Linked DNA regions of Homo sapiens: region 1 is linked to region 2. The links are contacts of gene promoters, found by promoter capture Hi-C in human tissues and cell types (Jung and others, 2019). All regions are on one chromosome and are shown on one strand. Each heading gives the region's core, a stretch centred on a gene start or on the middle of the fragment in contact. The rest is flanking DNA. Distances are from core to core; before and after follow the strand shown.

Evidence for each region. The method cuts DNA at HindIII sites, captures the fragments that hold promoters and counts their contacts. A contact is called where the count stands out against the background at its distance.
Region 1: a contact is called between a fragment that was not itself captured here and the fragment with the promoter of ZNF737 in region 2, in 1 of the 25 tissues and cell types used here (mesendoderm cells).

The regions. Positions count from the first base shown.
Region 1 is chr19:20,521,114-20,524,969 of GRCh38, reverse strand. The region is part of intron 2 of LOC105372316 (a long non-coding RNA gene); the gene reads right to left. Among named protein-coding and RNA genes, the nearest start is that of ZNF737, 43 kb to the left of the region's middle. The HindIII fragment of the contact is 4,311 bases long and covers 1-3,455 here.
Region 2 is chr19:20,564,233-20,568,025 of GRCh38, reverse strand. ZNF737 (zinc finger protein 737) reads left to right here and starts at 2,245. Exons shown (of 4, transcript NM_001159293.2): 1 at 2,245-2,388. The coding sequence starts at 2,386. All of the region lies in intron 2 of LOC105372316 (a long non-coding RNA gene), which reads right to left. RefSeq lists enhancers at 2,393-2,442, 2,653-2,812. The HindIII fragment of the contact is 4,540 bases long and covers 402-3,793 here.

The DNA of each region.
Region 1 (3,856 bases), core at 51-2,550, 42 kb after region 2:
CCTCCTCAATCTCCCATGTAGCTGGGACCACAGCTGCACACCACCATACCTGGCTACTATTAAGTTTTTTTTTATGGAGAGGGGTCTCCATGTATTCCCCAGGCTGGTCTCAAACTTTTCAGCTCCAGATATCCTCCTGTCTTGACCTCCCAAAATTCTGGGATTACAGATGAGAGCCACAACCACAGCTGGCTGTGAAATATACACTTCAATAAATTTAAGATGGTAAATTTTATGTTATGTGTTTTTAAAACAACGTTTTCAAGGAAAAACTGACAAAAATACAGAATGGTAAATCTTTTTAAAAATTAACTTCAAATCACAAAAGTGTTTCTCTCACAAAAAGAAAATATATATTCATCATTAAACACATCGTGATAATGACTATCTCCACGACTACTCACTTAGACAAGATAAAACTACCATCGAAAATCAGCTAACAAAGAATATGAGATAAGCCATAAGTAAAATTGGCATCGTATTTATAGATAAACACGCATGTCAGGCCTCTGAGCCCAAGCTAAGCGATCATATCCACTGTGACTTGCATGTATACATCCAGATGGCCTGAAGTAACTGAAGAATCACAAAAGAAGTGAAAATGGCCTGTTCCTGCCTTAACTGATGACATTACCTTGTGAAATTCCTTCTGGCTCAGAAGCTCCCCCACTGAGCATCTTGTGACCCCCGCCCCTGCCCACCAGAGAACAACCCCCTTTGACGGTAATTTTCCATTACCTACCCAAATCTTATAAAATGGCCCCACCCCTATTTCCCTTCGCTCTCTTTTTGGACTCAGCCTGCCTGCACCCAGGTAATTAAAAAGCTTTATTGTTCACACGAAGCCTGTTTGGTGGGCTCTTCACATGGACACGCATGACATTTGGTGCCAAAAACCCAGGACAGAGGTAATCCTTCGGGAGGCCTGTCCCCGCCCTCACTCCGTGAGGAAATCTACCTATGACCTCGGGTCCTCAGACCAACCAGTCCAAGGAACATCTCACCAATTTCAAATCGGGTAAGCGGTCTTTTCACTCTCTTCTCCAGCCTCTCTTGCTACCCTTCAATCTCCCTGTCCTTCCAACTCCAGTTCTTTTTCCTCTCTAGTACAGACAAAGGAGACACATTTTATCCGTGGACCCAAAACTCCGGTGCCAGTCTTAGACTCAGGAAGACAGTTTTCCCTTGGTGTTTAATCACTGTGGGGATGCCTGCCTGATTATTCACCCACATTTCATTGGCGTCTGATCACCGTGGGGACATCTGCCTTGGTCATTCACCCACATTCCCTTGGTGGCAAGTTAATTGCGGGGACACCTGCTTTGGATGCTCACCCATATTGCAGCCCAGGGCTGCTCACCACCCTCTTCTCCATGTCTCTACCTTTCTCCTTAAACTTACATCCTTCACTATGGGCAACATTCTGACCTCCATTCCTGCATCTTCTCCCTTAGCCTGTGTTCTTAAAAACTTAAAACCTCTTCAACTCTCACCTGACCTAAAACCTAAGCATCTTATTTTCTTCTGCAACACCACTTGGCCCCAATACAAACTCTATAATGGTTCTAAATAGCCAGAAAATGGCACTTTTGATTCCTCCATTTTACAAGACCTGGATGATTTTTGTCAAAAAAGACAAATGGTGTGAGATGCCTGATGTCCAGGCATTCTTTTACACATTGGTCCCTCCCTAATCTCTGTTCCCAATGCGACTCATCACAAATCCTCCTTCTTTCCCTCCCACCTGTCCCTTCAGTCCCAACCCCAAGCATCACTGAGTCTTTTCAATCTTCCTTTTCTACAGACCCACCTGTCCTCTCCTCCCCAAGCTGCTCCTCGCCAGGCCAAGCCAGGTCCCAGTTCTTCATCAGCCTCCGTTCCCCCACCCTATAATCCTTTTATCACCTCCCCTCCTCACACCCGGTCTGGCTTACAGTTTCATTCCATGACTAGCCCTCTCCCACTTGCCCAACAATTTCCTCTTAAAAAGGTGGCTGGAGCTGAAGCCATAGCCAAGGTTAACACTCCTTTTTCTTTATCTGACCTTTCCCAAATCAGTTAGCATTTAGGCTCTTTTTCATCAAATATAGAAACTCAACCCAGTTCATGGCCCATTTGGCAACAACTTTAGATGGTTTACCGCCCTAGACCCAGAAAGGGCAGAAGGCCGTCTTATTCTCAATATGTATTTTATTACCCAACCCACTCCCAACATTAGAAAAGCTCCAAAAATTAGATTCTTGCCCTCAAACCCCACAATAGGACTTAATTAACCTTGCCTTCAAGGTGTACAATAATAGAGAAGAGTAAAAATTACTTGCCTCTGCTATGAGACAAAACCCAGCCACACCTCCAGCACACAAGAACTTCAAAATGCCTAAGCCACAGTGGTCAGGCATTCCTACAGGACCGCCTCCCTCAGGATCTTGCTTCAAGTGCCAGAAATCTGGCCACTGGGCCAAGGAATGCCTGCAGCCCAGGATTCCTCCTAAGCCATGTCCCATCTGTGCGGGACCCCACTGGGAATCAGACTGTCCAGCTCGCCTGGCAGCCACTCCTAGAGCCCCTGGAACTCTAGCCCAAGGCTCTCTGACTGACTCCTTCCCAGATATTCTTGGCTTAGCGGCTGAAGACTGACACTGCCTAATCACCTCAGAAGCCTCCTGGACCATCACAGATGCTTTAGGTAACTCTTACAGTGGAAAGTGAGTCCATACCCTTCTTAATCAATACGGAGGCTACCCACCCCACATTACCTTCTTTTCAAGGGCGTGTTTCTCTTGCCTCCATAACTGTTGTGGATATTGACAGCCAGGCTTCTAAACCTCTTAAAACTCCCCAACTCTGATGCCAGCTTGGACCACATTCTTTTACGCACTCCTTTTTAGTTATCCCCACCTGCCCAGCTCCCTTATTAGGTCAAGACATTTTAACTAAATTATCTGCTTCCCTGACTATTCCTAGGCTACAGCCACACCTCATTGCCATCCTTTTCCCCAGTTCAAAGCCTCCTTCACATCCTCCCCTTGTATCTCCCCATTTTAATCCACAAGTATAGGACACCTCTACTCCCTCCTTGGTGACAATTCATGCACCTCTTACCATCCCATTAAAACCTAATCACCCTTACCCCAAAGGATTAAAGCCCGTTATCACCTGCCTGTTACAGCATGGCCTTTTAAAGCCTATAAACTCTCCTTACAATTCCCCCATTTTACCTGTCCAAAACCCAGACAAGACTTACAGGTTATTTCAGGATCTGTACCTTATCAACCAATTGTCTTGCCTATCCACCCATTGGTGTCAAAACCATATACTTTCCTATCCTCAATACCTCCCTCCACAACCCCTCCATAACCCATTAGTCTGTTCTGAATCTCAAACATGCTTTCTTTACTATTTCTTCGCACCCTTCATCCCAGCCTCTCTTCTCTTTCACTTGGACTGATGCTGACACCCATTAGGCTCAGCAAATTACCTGGGCTGTACTGCTGCAAGGCTTCACAGACAGCTCCCATTACCTCAGTCAAGCCCAAATTTCTTTCTCATCCATTACCTATCTCGGCATAATTCTTCATGAAAACACATGTGCTCTCCCTACCGATTGTGTCCAGCTAATCTCCCAAACCCCAACCCCTTCTAGAAAACAACAACTCCTTTCCCTCCTAGTCATGGTTAGGTACTTCTGCCTTTGGATATCTAGTTTTACCATCCTGACTAAACCATTGTATAAACTCAAAAAGCAAACCTAGCTGACCCCACAGATCCTAAATCCTTTCACCACTCCTCTTTCCATTCCTTAAAAGCAGCCCTAGAAGCTACTCCCACACTAGCTCTCCTTAACTCATCGCAACCC
Region 2 (3,793 bases), core at 996-3,495:
ACCCAAGTGGGGAATATGATGTCTCCAGAAACCAAACAAGCCAGTACATTAGTGGTAGGGGTTGCAAAATCTAGTATTTTAGCCTTAGCCTTTGGTAAAATGGACTATTTATTTGCATTCCATAAAATGCCAAGGAATTTTATACTTTGTGCAGGTCCTTGAATTTTACTAGGGTTAATTTCCCATTTTTGAAATAGGAACTGGGTTTTTACCTGCTCGAAGCCCCGGCTGACTAGTTCTTCAGTTTTATCCTGACTGGGCCACCTGGACAGCTGCTTTTTTCAGCGATAGGCTGATAGCTTTGAGCTTTATCAGTCAAGACATTGACTGGCATTGGGCCAGTCTGGAAGTCAGATTAGCATTTTCCTTTTCCGCTTACATTTATCTTGTAGCAACCAGCCCCTATCACGATACATTAACTTATAAGCAGTAAGCAAACACCATCCACTCCGGGAGATCCCTCAGCATCTCCTTTGCTGACTGGAATCCCCCGCAGCACTTCCCGCACAGTCAAAGGTTTAAACTGCACTAATTTAGATTCCCAATTCCCACAAAAACCAGTTCCCCTTGACCATTTAATCACCAAGAGGGAGAACTGGGGGAGTTCCCATCCCAGGATATGGGAAGTCCCTGAGCCCTCCAGCCCTGTCCTTCTAGTCAAAAAGGGGTACACTTTTGTTTTCAAATCCTATTTGTGATGCCAAAAATGTTCTGTGAGGCAAATGTGAGAGGGGAGAAACAAAGACACACACACAATACCATTAAGGGTAAACAACTTTTATCCCACGTAAATGGCAATGCAGACATAATAAAGTAATAATATAATAAGCAAATGATATAATAAGCAAATAAATATAATAAGCAGATTGATGTAATAAGCCAATCTTAATAAGACGAGGAAATGGGAAAAGATATATATATATATATATATATATATATATATATATTTTCCCTCACCAGACTATGGGGGATTCACCACCAGAGAGGGAGGCAACAGCCACAGCTCTAGAGTCAGCCACCCGTCCATCGTACACAGACAAGGAGAGGTCTTATGAAGCTTCAGGGCGGTCTGGGACCTTAGCTCTTTTGTAACGAGTTGTTTGGCATAAGGCCCAGTGATGAGAGCCCTTCACGACTTGCCTCAAGGAACACAAAAAGGTCAACCTTTTTTTGTGATTGTCTATTGTTTTTCAACAACTAATATATAGGAATAGATTGAAATAGAGATTTCTTCAATACAGCGCTGGATGAACACCTCAGGGGCTCACACAACCTGTTCTGGGACTTGGTGACAATTGTTTGTGTCCACATTCAATTGAGTTCAGATTTAATATGTGACTTTTCCTCCACAAATTCCCCTGTCTTGATGAATCGGCTCTGTCTAGGCAAAGGGTAAAATAAACCCCTTGGGCTGTTACACAACCTCCGCCTCCTGGCTTCAAGTGATTCTCCTGCCTCAGCCTCCGGTGTAGCTGGGACTACAGATGTGCACCCCCACACCCAGGTAACTTTTTATATTATTAGTTATTATTATTATTTATTAGTTATTATTAGAGATGGGGTTTCACCATGTTGGCTAGGCTTGTCTTGAACTCCTGACCTCAAGTGATCTGCTCACCTTGGCCTCCCAAAGTGTTGGAATTACCAGCGTGAACTATCCGTGCCTGCCTCTAAATGATTTCTATCTCCTATAGCTGTTGGAAATTAAAGATTGTTTCAAATTGAAAAAATAAAAAGAATGTGGACAAAAATAAAATATAAATAGTTTTTTAAAATTACGAGATATTACAAAATATATATGTAAATCTGGAGTGCTCAAAAATGACAAATTTGATTTATTTATAAGGTTTTATTAAAATTAGCTTTAATAGATTTTACCATTACCAAAGTAAAAGTTGATTTTCTGTTGAACAAAAATTTTATGTATTATTAATGACAGCAAAATACTTCTGTTCACCTTTTTAATACATTCAACAAGAAAGAGAGTAAACAAGAGATAAAATATTCCCATGCTCTGGGGTGGGCCTGGCTCAGCTCAGGGAGGAAGCACTGTTTGAAAAGCCAGCTGCTTAGGCTGGCACTCTTTGTTCACTTAACCCAGCATCTGATCATATCTTCTGTCACTCAGGGCCTGAGGGGGCGGGGATTTAAGCATTATCCAATCAGGGACGCTGGGCTGGAAGCCGTCCAATCAGGCACGCAGCCAGAGTGAAGCGGAAGGCTTCCGGGTTTTGCGGGGCCTTTGTCTCTGCAGCCGGAGCTCCAGGTCTTGTCTTCACTGCTGTGTGTCCTCTGCTCCTAGAGGCCCAGCCTCTGTGGCCCTGTGTCCTGCAGGTATTGGGAGATCCACAGCTAAGACGCCCGGGAGCCCCTGGAAGCCTAGAAATGGTGAGAGTGCCGGTCCGACATCCCGAGAGAGGGGGATAGGCTGGTTGGAACCGGTGGGAAGTGGCTGTGGCGGGACTCAGGCCTCTGCGCAGTCAGCTCCACAATCTGCACCCTGAGTTCTCCTTGCCCAGCTCGGCCTCAGTCCCGTTCAGCCATAATTTGGCGGCTACGCTGACAGCCGGGCCCCCTGGCGTCCTGTGTCTTCCCTGCGTAGTGACTGCTCTGGCCTGGAGCGCTCCGTGGGCAGCTCTGCAACCGCAGCCTCCCGTCTCTCCCAGAATGTGCAGGGACCACCAGAGGGTCGTCAGGGGAGAATCCTGACTCGGGGTGCAGGTTCATGAATGGGAAGAGCTTTGGTCCGTGGAGTTCACAGTTTCTGTTTTCTGCTATTCAAAATTTATGGGGCCGGGCGCAGTCGTTCACGCCTGTAATCCCAGCACTTTGGGAGGCCGAGGCAGGCGGATAACTTGAGGTCAGGACTTCAAGATAAGCCTGGCCCAAATGGGGAAACCCCATGTCTACTAAAAATGCAAAAATTAGCTGGGTGTGATGACAGATGTCTGTAATCACAGCTTCTCGGGAGGCAGAAGTGAGAGAATCGCTTGAACTCCGGAGGTGGATGTTGCAGTGAGCTGAGATCTTGCCACTGCACTCCAGCCTGCGCGACAGTGAGACTCCGTCTCAAAAAAAAAAAAAAAATTCCTGGTTATGTAATTACAGTTTAATTGGCAGTTTATAGTTGCTTAAGCCTGAATTTTGTTTCCCCTAATGTAGTAATTTCCCAAAAAATGCACATGAGCTTAGATTTTTTTTTTTTTGAGGTAGAAATCCAGGGACTAGAGCTTCTTCAGTCTAATTGCCTGCCACTTAATTATTTTCACACGCCACAGCGGACTGATTTTCCCTGGCATTTTCCACATGTGTCTCAAGCAAGGCCTCAAGTGTACCCCATGTTCCTCAATTTATTATTTTTATTTTTTTTTTTTTGAGACGGAGTCTCGCTCTGTCGCCAGAGCTGGAGTGCAGTGTCAGATCTCGGCTCACTGCAACCTCCGCCTCTCAGGTTCAAGCATTCTTCTGCTTCAGCCTCTGGAGTAGTTGGGGCTATGGGCACGCGACACCACGCCCAGCTAATTTTTGTATTTTTAGTAGAGATGGAGTTTCAGTATGTTAGCCAGGAATGCTAGTTACCAAGGAAAAAAATAGGGAAAATCTCTCTTCCATTTTGGCTGTAGACAATGAATATATTTCCACAGGAAAATGTGGTAGATAATTGATGAGTTACATAGATTCGTCAACACATTAGTTCCTCTTTTTGCAGGGGAAATTTGTGACAGTGAATATCTCAGTTCTATATCCTGTTGAGTTCTGAGTTAAATGCTAAATTATATGTGATGAAACATGG